Linked DNA regions of Homo sapiens: region 1 is linked to region 2. Evidence: promoter capture Hi-C in human tissues and cell types (Jung and others, 2019). All regions are on one chromosome and are shown on one strand. The core of a region is centred on a gene start or on the middle of the fragment in contact, and the rest is flanking DNA. Distances in the headings are between cores, read along the strand shown.

The links. The method cuts DNA at HindIII sites, captures the fragments that hold promoters and counts their contacts. A contact is called where the count stands out against the background at its distance.
Region 1: a fragment that was not itself captured here is called in contact with the fragment with the promoter of ADAM15 in region 2 in 1 of the 25 tissues and cell types used here (spleen).

The regions. Positions count from the first base shown.
Region 1 is chr1:154,906,094-154,909,997 of GRCh38, reverse strand. No RefSeq gene overlaps it. Among named protein-coding and RNA genes, the nearest start is that of PMVK, 29 kb to the left of the region's middle. The HindIII fragment of the contact is 9,328 bases long and covers 1-3,904 here.
Region 2 is chr1:155,049,573-155,053,293 of GRCh38, reverse strand. ADAM15 (ADAM metallopeptidase domain 15) reads right to left here and starts at 1,978. Exons shown (of 23, transcript NM_207197.3): 1 at 1,829-1,978; 2 at 517-623. The coding sequence starts at 1,907. DCST1 (DC-STAMP domain containing 1) reads right to left here. Exons shown (of 17, transcript NM_152494.4): 17 at 2,364-2,677. The coding sequence ends at 2,426. All of the region lies in intron 1 of DCST1-AS1 (DCST1 antisense RNA 1), which reads left to right. ADAM15-EFNA4 (ADAM15-EFNA4 readthrough) reads right to left here and starts at 1,978. Exons shown (of 26, transcript NR_176418.1): 1 at 1,829-1,978; 2 at 517-623. RefSeq lists a silencer at 1,814-2,273 and an enhancer at 2,744-2,803. The HindIII fragment of the contact is 8,680 bases long and covers 1-3,721 here.

The DNA of each region.
Region 1 (3,904 bases), core at 1,325-3,824, 140 kb after region 2:
CAGTCACCCCTGCCCCAACTCCTGGCAAGGGTTATGGATTTTATTCAGTACACAATGTACACAGTTTTGGTCTTAGGATATAGTGACCTATGGCTGTCTGCCCATAATTAGGTCCTTATTTCATGTTATTTGGTACTTTTTGCTGAATAGCCTGGGCAGGCCCTTTTACTATGGCTTTGGTCTCACCCCTTGGATGACCATTTTGGTGCTGTGCTCTCCATTCTGAACTTTTTTTTGAGAGGGGGTCTGGGTCTTGCTATGTTGCCCAGGCTGGTCTCAAACTCCTGGGCTCAGGAGTCCTCCCACCTCAGCCTCCGAGTAGCATTCTGAACATTTTGCTCCCAGTTCCTAGGGCTTGCCAGGCTCCTGCTCACCTTTGCTTACCTTTGTGTGTACTGTTTCTCTCCTGGAACGCTCTTGCCCCTTCTGCTCTCCTGGCCAACTCTTCCTCTTGCTTTGGTTCCGTGTCACTTCATTCTCTGGCTTTGCTACTCCTTCCCCAAGGTGAGGTGTCCTTGCTCTGGAATTCTACAGCATGCTCTGTCTAGCCTCACCATCTCCTGGGAAAGTCTATGTAACTGTCCTCCCTGCAACCCTCTGAGCTCTCTGGTCCCTCTTACTGATGCAACTCCTAGCATTTCTCATGTGGCCGGTGGGCAGTAAATGTTGAAAAAGTGAATAAGAGAGTGAATCCACCACTGGTCAGGAGGCCATAATTAGGACCATGAAAGAGCCTGGGCTCTGGGGCACATGGATCCATTAGCTCAGGTCCCAGACACACAGTGGTGGTGTGGCCACATTGATGTTGTCTCTTTTCCAGGCATCAGGAAGCTGAGCAGGTGATGAAAGCCAGAGCGGCTGAGCCCTAGCCTGTGTCCCCGCCTTATCTCCTCAACCCCATTCTCCTCCTCCCATCCCTTCCTCCTGCCTCGGTGGTGAGTCTTTCCGTGCTTAGCTGCTCACTAGTGCCCACCCCCATCTATGGCCCTGCCACATTAACTAGCCCCTCTCTCTCATGTTTTCCAATTTCTCCATCCTCGCCTGTCCTGAAACAGCTTTCCTTCTGCTGACCCCTCCAGTATCATCTCAGTTATTTTGTCCCCTTTACTCCTGAACACTTTGCAATTTGACCTCTGCTCCTGTCTCTACTGAAACTGCTTCTTGAAGGTCACCCACCACTGACAGCGTCTTTAGTTCTCCCTCATGACCAGTCTGCATCAGCCGACCAACTCACCCACTCCACTCCCTCTCTCTTGAATTCACTTTTTTGGTTCTCCTGCCTTTCTGCTCCTGCCTTTTCTATTTCTGACTCCTCCTCTTGTTGGGGTGATCAGACCCAACACCAGGTCGTAGGGGTGACAAAATCCGGCAAATTCAAAGGATTGAGAAAAAGAGTTTGAGAGAGAAAGGTGGGATCAGGGGGCCATCGCGATTGTGGAGGCTGCAAAGGCCCTGAGCTCTGGGACCCTGTGGTATTTATTAGTAATCCAACAAAGAAACAGGTGGTGAGAATGTGGAGGTCAAAAGGGCAGGCACATGATCTATAGCTGTGATGGTTTAGCATTTATAAGGAACATTTTCTGCTACTTGAGATAGTGAGAGTAGGTTCTTTTAACTCAAGATACAATTGATCCTGGGAGAGCAAGGAGCCAGCAAGTCTAGACACATTCCAGAGCCATGAGCCCTGGATTCTATCCAAGTCACGAGGGATTTTATGCCCTGGGCTTAGATTATGGTGCGTCAGGGTAGCCTTCCACCCTTTAGCACAGAGCTTGGTGTTCCAAAGGCCACAAGGGGTTTTAGACCCTGGACCCCGGACATGTTCCAAGACTCTTTTACATTGTGTCAGACATGCAAACCCTGCCTCAGCTTCTCCTAACACTCAGCTTTTCCCAACATCCTCTCTTCTTGTCCTAGAAATACAGGTGTTCCTCAGGCCCTGCCTTCTGTTCTCTCTTTTGCCTCCTTCCTTGGTGAGATCACCTTAATATGGATGACTCTGGAGTTTTCCTGTCTTTACATGGGCGTCCTATGCGCTGTATTCGGAGTGGCTTCATGTTGGCTCTTGAAGCGTGCTTCTTCCGTAACGGGCTCCCTTCCATCACTCACACTGGAACAGGGTACCTGGCCGAGACCCAACCTTCAGATTTTTGAAGACTTGGTAAACTGAAAAGGGAAAAACTGCTATGGAAAAGTTGCAAGGAATTTTTATATTTAGAGGTGGTGAGATCAATTCCCTTTAGGATCAGGGAGTCTCTTCGTTTCAGAAAAATTGCCCAAAGGAGCCCTTTCATTACGCACATATGAAGTAAGCACTTACCCAGTGCTTGGGCAGAATGCAGTCCCAGGATACCTGAGTGCACTAGCTTTGATCCATCATTCTGTTTGGCAACATCATCTCTTGTGCGTAACTGAGCCGGAGCTCTGCCTCTGAGCCATTCTTACTTTTTTTTTTTTTTTTTTTTGGGACAGAGTTTGCCCAGGCTGGAGTGCAGTGGCACGATCTTGGCTCACTGCAATCTCCACCTCCTGGGTTCGAGCGATTCTCCTGCCTCAGCCTCCTGAGTAGCTGGGATTACCATGTGCCACCAAGCCTGGCTAATTTTTTTGTGTTTTTTAGAGATGGGGTTTCCCCATGTTGGCCAGGCTGGTCTCAAACTCCTGTCCTCAAGTGATCTGTCCACTTTGGCCTCCCAAAGTGCTGAGATTATAAGCGTGAGCCACCATGCCCGGCCCATCCTCACTTTTGGGGAGTTGGGGGAAGGAAAACTATTTCTTGAATCTGTAGGAATTTAGAGGACGCTGAGCTGCAGACTGCTGTTTGTCTTGTGGGATTGAGTGTTCTTGTAGGCCAGTGGTTTGTGGGGTGTCCAGAGCTGAGGTGACAAGAACTGCTGGTAGGACCCATGGATGTGATGCGCTCATACTTTGTCTTGGAGGACAGACTAAAGCCAGAGCTGTCTGGACCCAGTGCAGTAGCGCCTGAATGGGATGGGCCGCAGGTGGCCTGTTTGTGGTCATGTTGTCTGTCTCCCACTGGACTGTAGGCAGCATGAGGGCAAGCACCATGCTTCTCCAGTGTCTAGCTCACACAGCACCTGGCCAATCCCTGCCGATTGAATGAAAGATGAATGAATATTGTGGGCTGCTGTACTTGGGGCCATAGAGCAAGAGCACCCTCTCTTGGTAGGGCTGGGGTTTCTCCGGAAGGATCCATAATCCTGGGAAAAGAATGCTCTTCAATGGGAAAGGTGGGCTGTCCCTGGCTACTGGGGAACCTCTTTATTTCCTCTGTGGGCTGGCTGGGAGCTCATCGTGGTGGTGGGCCTGGGGCCCTGAGAGTAGCGCCATCTCTAGTAGCTGGAGCTGTTTCTCCTCGGCCTTGTGCTTTCCTTCCGTGATCCTTAGTAAGAGTCTGAGGTGTGGCCTATGGAACTGCCCCTCACATTTGTGGGGCTGGAACAAGAGGCCTACATACTAGATGTCTAAACATTCAAAAATTATAAATAAGCCAGGCTCACGCCTGTACTCTTACCTACTAGGAAGGCTGAGGTGGGAGGGTTGCTTGAGCCTAGGTGTTTGAGTTCAGCCTGAAGAACATAGTGAGACCCTGTCTCAAAAAAAAAAAGTTATAAATAAAACTAACAAACTGTTAAATAAATAAAATGTGGCTGGGCGCAGTGGCTCACGCCTGTAATCCCAGCACTTTGGGAGGCCGAGGCAGGTGGATCACCTGAGATCAGGAGTTCGAGACCAGCCCGGCCAACATAGTAAAACCCCATCTTTACTGAAAGTACAAAAATTAGCTGGGCGTGGTGGCTCATGCCTGTAATCCCAGCTACTCGGGAGGCTGAGGCAGGAGAATCACTTGAACCGGGGAGGTAGAGGTTTGCAGTGAACCAAG
Region 2 (3,721 bases), core at 729-3,228:
GGGAGGGGCCAGGAAACCCTGCCTGGCCTGGAGCATTGTTCTGGGGGGTTGTGTGCGGAGGTCAAGGAAGGTATCTGAGCCACCCCTTCTCGGCTTCCTGCCCAGAGAGGAAGCACCGTGTAGGACCCAGCACAAGCCCCAGCCCTTCCTCTGACTCAGCTTTAGAATGGGGTGGGGGGGGGGGGGTTTGGTAAGGTCCTGACTCTTTCCAAATCCCCCCACTGAGAAAACCGACAACATGAGATGAAGAAAGCAAGTTTGGCTTCACAATTTCCCCAGTGGAGATGGATGGGTTGGGTGGGGCTGAGGCAGACAGATACACGTGTGTGCAGAGGGAGAGGGAGATAAGTGAAGCCAGGTGCTGGGGTGTGGTGGGAGAGGCAGCTGGGCCTGGGATAGACCCACTACAGTGAGCTCTACCCACCAGCTCCTCAGCCAAGCTTTGGCTTTGAGACACCTGGCTATACCGGGGCGTGTGTGGATTCGTTTATTTATTAGAGGGGAGTGAGAGCTCACCTGAAGCACCTTTTTGAGGCTAATTGGGAGATCGTCCTGAAGGACCTGGGGCTCCAAGGGCTCCCTCGGGGCCTTCTCTGACTCTGCCTGCTGCTCCTCAGTGCCACCTGCAGGTCCCAGGACACCCCAAGACAGTACTGAGGGAATCGACAGCAGGGCTGGGGGTGACAGGTGCCCTCAGATCCACCAGCTCCCAGCCCATCAAGACCCTTAGGTACCTGAGGGGCTTCCACATTGCATGCTGAGACTTAAAGAAGAATACTGGAAGGAGAGGGTGTCTCTCTAATTTATGGCTTTCCACCCACCAACCCATTCACAAGTCCCCAAGAAAGACTTTCGGCTTGCGCAGCCTGTGGCCCTCCTTGTCCCCTTCCGGCCAATCCCAGGTTCTCACAGGACCCTCCCCGGTTCCCACTCCCTCCCAATCACTCTCCCCCCACTTCAGGAACGCCCCCTCTCGAGACTGAGCTAAGCCTTGTGGCCGGGTGCCCGCTCACCCTCCCCTTCGCTCACATCGGAGATGCCAGGAACGCCCATTTCTGGGTGAGCAGTGCAAACACCCCCACCTCCCTAAACACCCTCATGCCCAGTCAGGCACACCCGCTGCCTACAGCCTCTGCTTCCTCCTCGAGCACCCCCCACCCCCCCAACACACAATGGCCCTCTCTCCTCCGGACACTCCACCCGCGCCTGCCCTCTCGGTCCCGGCCCAAGACAGCAGCGGGAAGTGAAAGTTCCAAGGAGGAGTTGGTGTCCCAGCCTCTTTCCTGGCCAATTCTCCCTTCTCCTGGCTCATCTCGGGCCCCTCCCGCTCGGCCAGGCACTGGTGGCAACAGCACCAGGGTGAGGAGTGCCTGGCGGCCCCAGGCCTGGAATAGAGGCTAGAGAGAATCCTCTTCACTAAACCCTACAAGCCATGCCCGCTCAGCGCCCTGGCACCGGGTCGAACGGTTAGCTAGGCCCCAGAGCAGCGAAGATGCCAGTCCTGGGGAGCAGCGACCCTCTCATCACGATCTTGAAGTGGCGCTGGACAGGCCCCTCGGTACCTGGTACCTGAGCCTGAAAGTGTCCGCAGGGACCGCGCAGAGGATGACCAGGCAGGAGGCAGGGGGCGCCGGCATCCCCCCTCCTTCTCTTTTCACCCCATCGCCAAGTCACCGGGCCCTAGGCCCAGGACAGCGGACCAGGGCGGGCCGCGCTCTGGCTGGGCTCTCCCAGGGTCTCCGTCCGGCCCCATTACCCTAATGCCTTCCGACTTTCCTGCACCTCCCTCCCAGTCCGCCCCCCGACCCACTCCAGGCGGAGGACTCACCTATATTTGGGAGCGGCCAGGAAGGCAGAGGGCTGCCCGCGCCCAGGAGCCCCAGGGCCCAGAGCAGCGCCAGCCGCATGGCAGCGGCGCTCCGGGCCGGGCGAGGGCAGCAAGTGCGGAACAGCGCGCGGAGGAGCGGCCGGCGGCCAGGTCGCCTCGGAGAACCCAGCAGCGCCGCGCGGCCACCAGGCCCCGCCCCGGCCCGCCCCCTCCCACCCGGCCCCAAGCCAAGCTCCGCCCCCGGCAAAGCCCGCCCCGCTGCGCGCCGGGTGCCTCGGGAGCGGGGACACCGCCCACTACGCCCGCGCTGCTCAGCGCTACCGCTTCCCCGCAACTGTGCGGAGTGGGAGCCGGTGCCCGGTCCGACCGGCTTGGGCGGCGCGCCTTCACCCGGCGCCAGGTCCGGACCCCTCCCTAGTAGCTTCGCGGCCTCCCTGCCTCCTGTGCGCGGCCTGGCTCGGAGAGGTCGGGCGGGCAGGCTTTCCCGACTGCAGGCGAGGCAGTGCGCGGCTCACCCCAGTCCCCGACCCACGTGAAGCGTACAGGGCATTTTATTAACCGGGAAGGACGGTGCGGAAGAGCGAGCAGGACGCCTCTTCACCCCGCGTAGGCAGTGTCGTCGTTGCTGTCACTAAAGGCGGAGGAAGAGAGCTCTTCGCGGGGCGTGCAGACCGGGCACCGCTGCCGCATGTCGTCCCAGCACGACCAGCAGTACACGGCCTCGCAGTCCAGCGTCCGGCACACGTAGGACTCGGGCGTCTCGGGTGCCTGGCACACCACGCAGCGCCGGCACAGCCAGCGGCGCAGGAGCGGGCAGCCGCGGTGCAGGATATCCGCCAGCGGGTGGCGCTGTTGGGAGGTGGGCGTTAGCGCCAGCCCGGGAGCGAGGCGGGAAAGAAGGGGAACTGGACAGCGTTTCCTGTCTGAAGTCGCCAGGCCTGACAATTCCCGCGTGTTGGAGGAGGCTGGGTTGGACAAAGGAAACCCCTGGAGGGCGAGGGTGCCTCCCTCCCCAACTCTGTGATGGAGAATGGGAGGATGCACCCTCCAGGCTCTCTCCAAGCGGATATCAGCCACAACTCTCATTTGCACTTTCCTGTAAATCATCTTATTTGGTTCTCACAGTGAGGCTGAGAAGTGAGCAGGCCAGATCGACTATCACTGTTGCTATCCCCACTTTACAGTTGAGAAAGGTGAAGTGACTCTCAAAGTCACACAGATAGTAAACAATCCAACTTGGCTGGACCCCAGGGGCCCTGATTCCAAACCACAAACCTAGTTCACTATGCTCCCTGCCATCCCTCACGACATGTCTCTACACAGTTGTCAGGGATTTTCCACAGGCCACCTTACCCAGGAAGCAGCCACTCTTTGCCCAAGAAACTCCAGAGGCCCTGCTGCCTGCCAGACAGGCAGAACTCTTGGGCTTGGCCTTCAGAGCCTTCCCTCACCTGGTCCCTTTCTAGCCTCTTTCCTACTTTAGCCCTCCCTGAGAGCTGTCTCTTCTGAGCCAGTTTCTCCTGAGACTAGCCCTGGCACTTCGCATTCCCTGTGGACTGAGTCTTTGCACATTCTGCTTGGAATGACTGTCTGGCACATTTCCATCTGTGCATTCACATTCAGTTTGCTTCACGACCCTGTCAAGGAATCCCAGCATGTTCTTTTTTGTTTTTTGTTTTTCATTTTTTCACAACACATTCATTTGGCCCCTATTGTGTGTCATGGGGGCTGGGGGTATCCAGGCCCTAGGGAAAAAGCTAAGCAAACACAGTCTCACTTTTATGAACTTTGTTAGGACTGATTAAATAAGAATGGCTGCCACTCATTGTTTATAATGTCAGGTCCTGTACTAAGATACTGTACATAAATTATTTCAATTCTAAATTAGCCGGG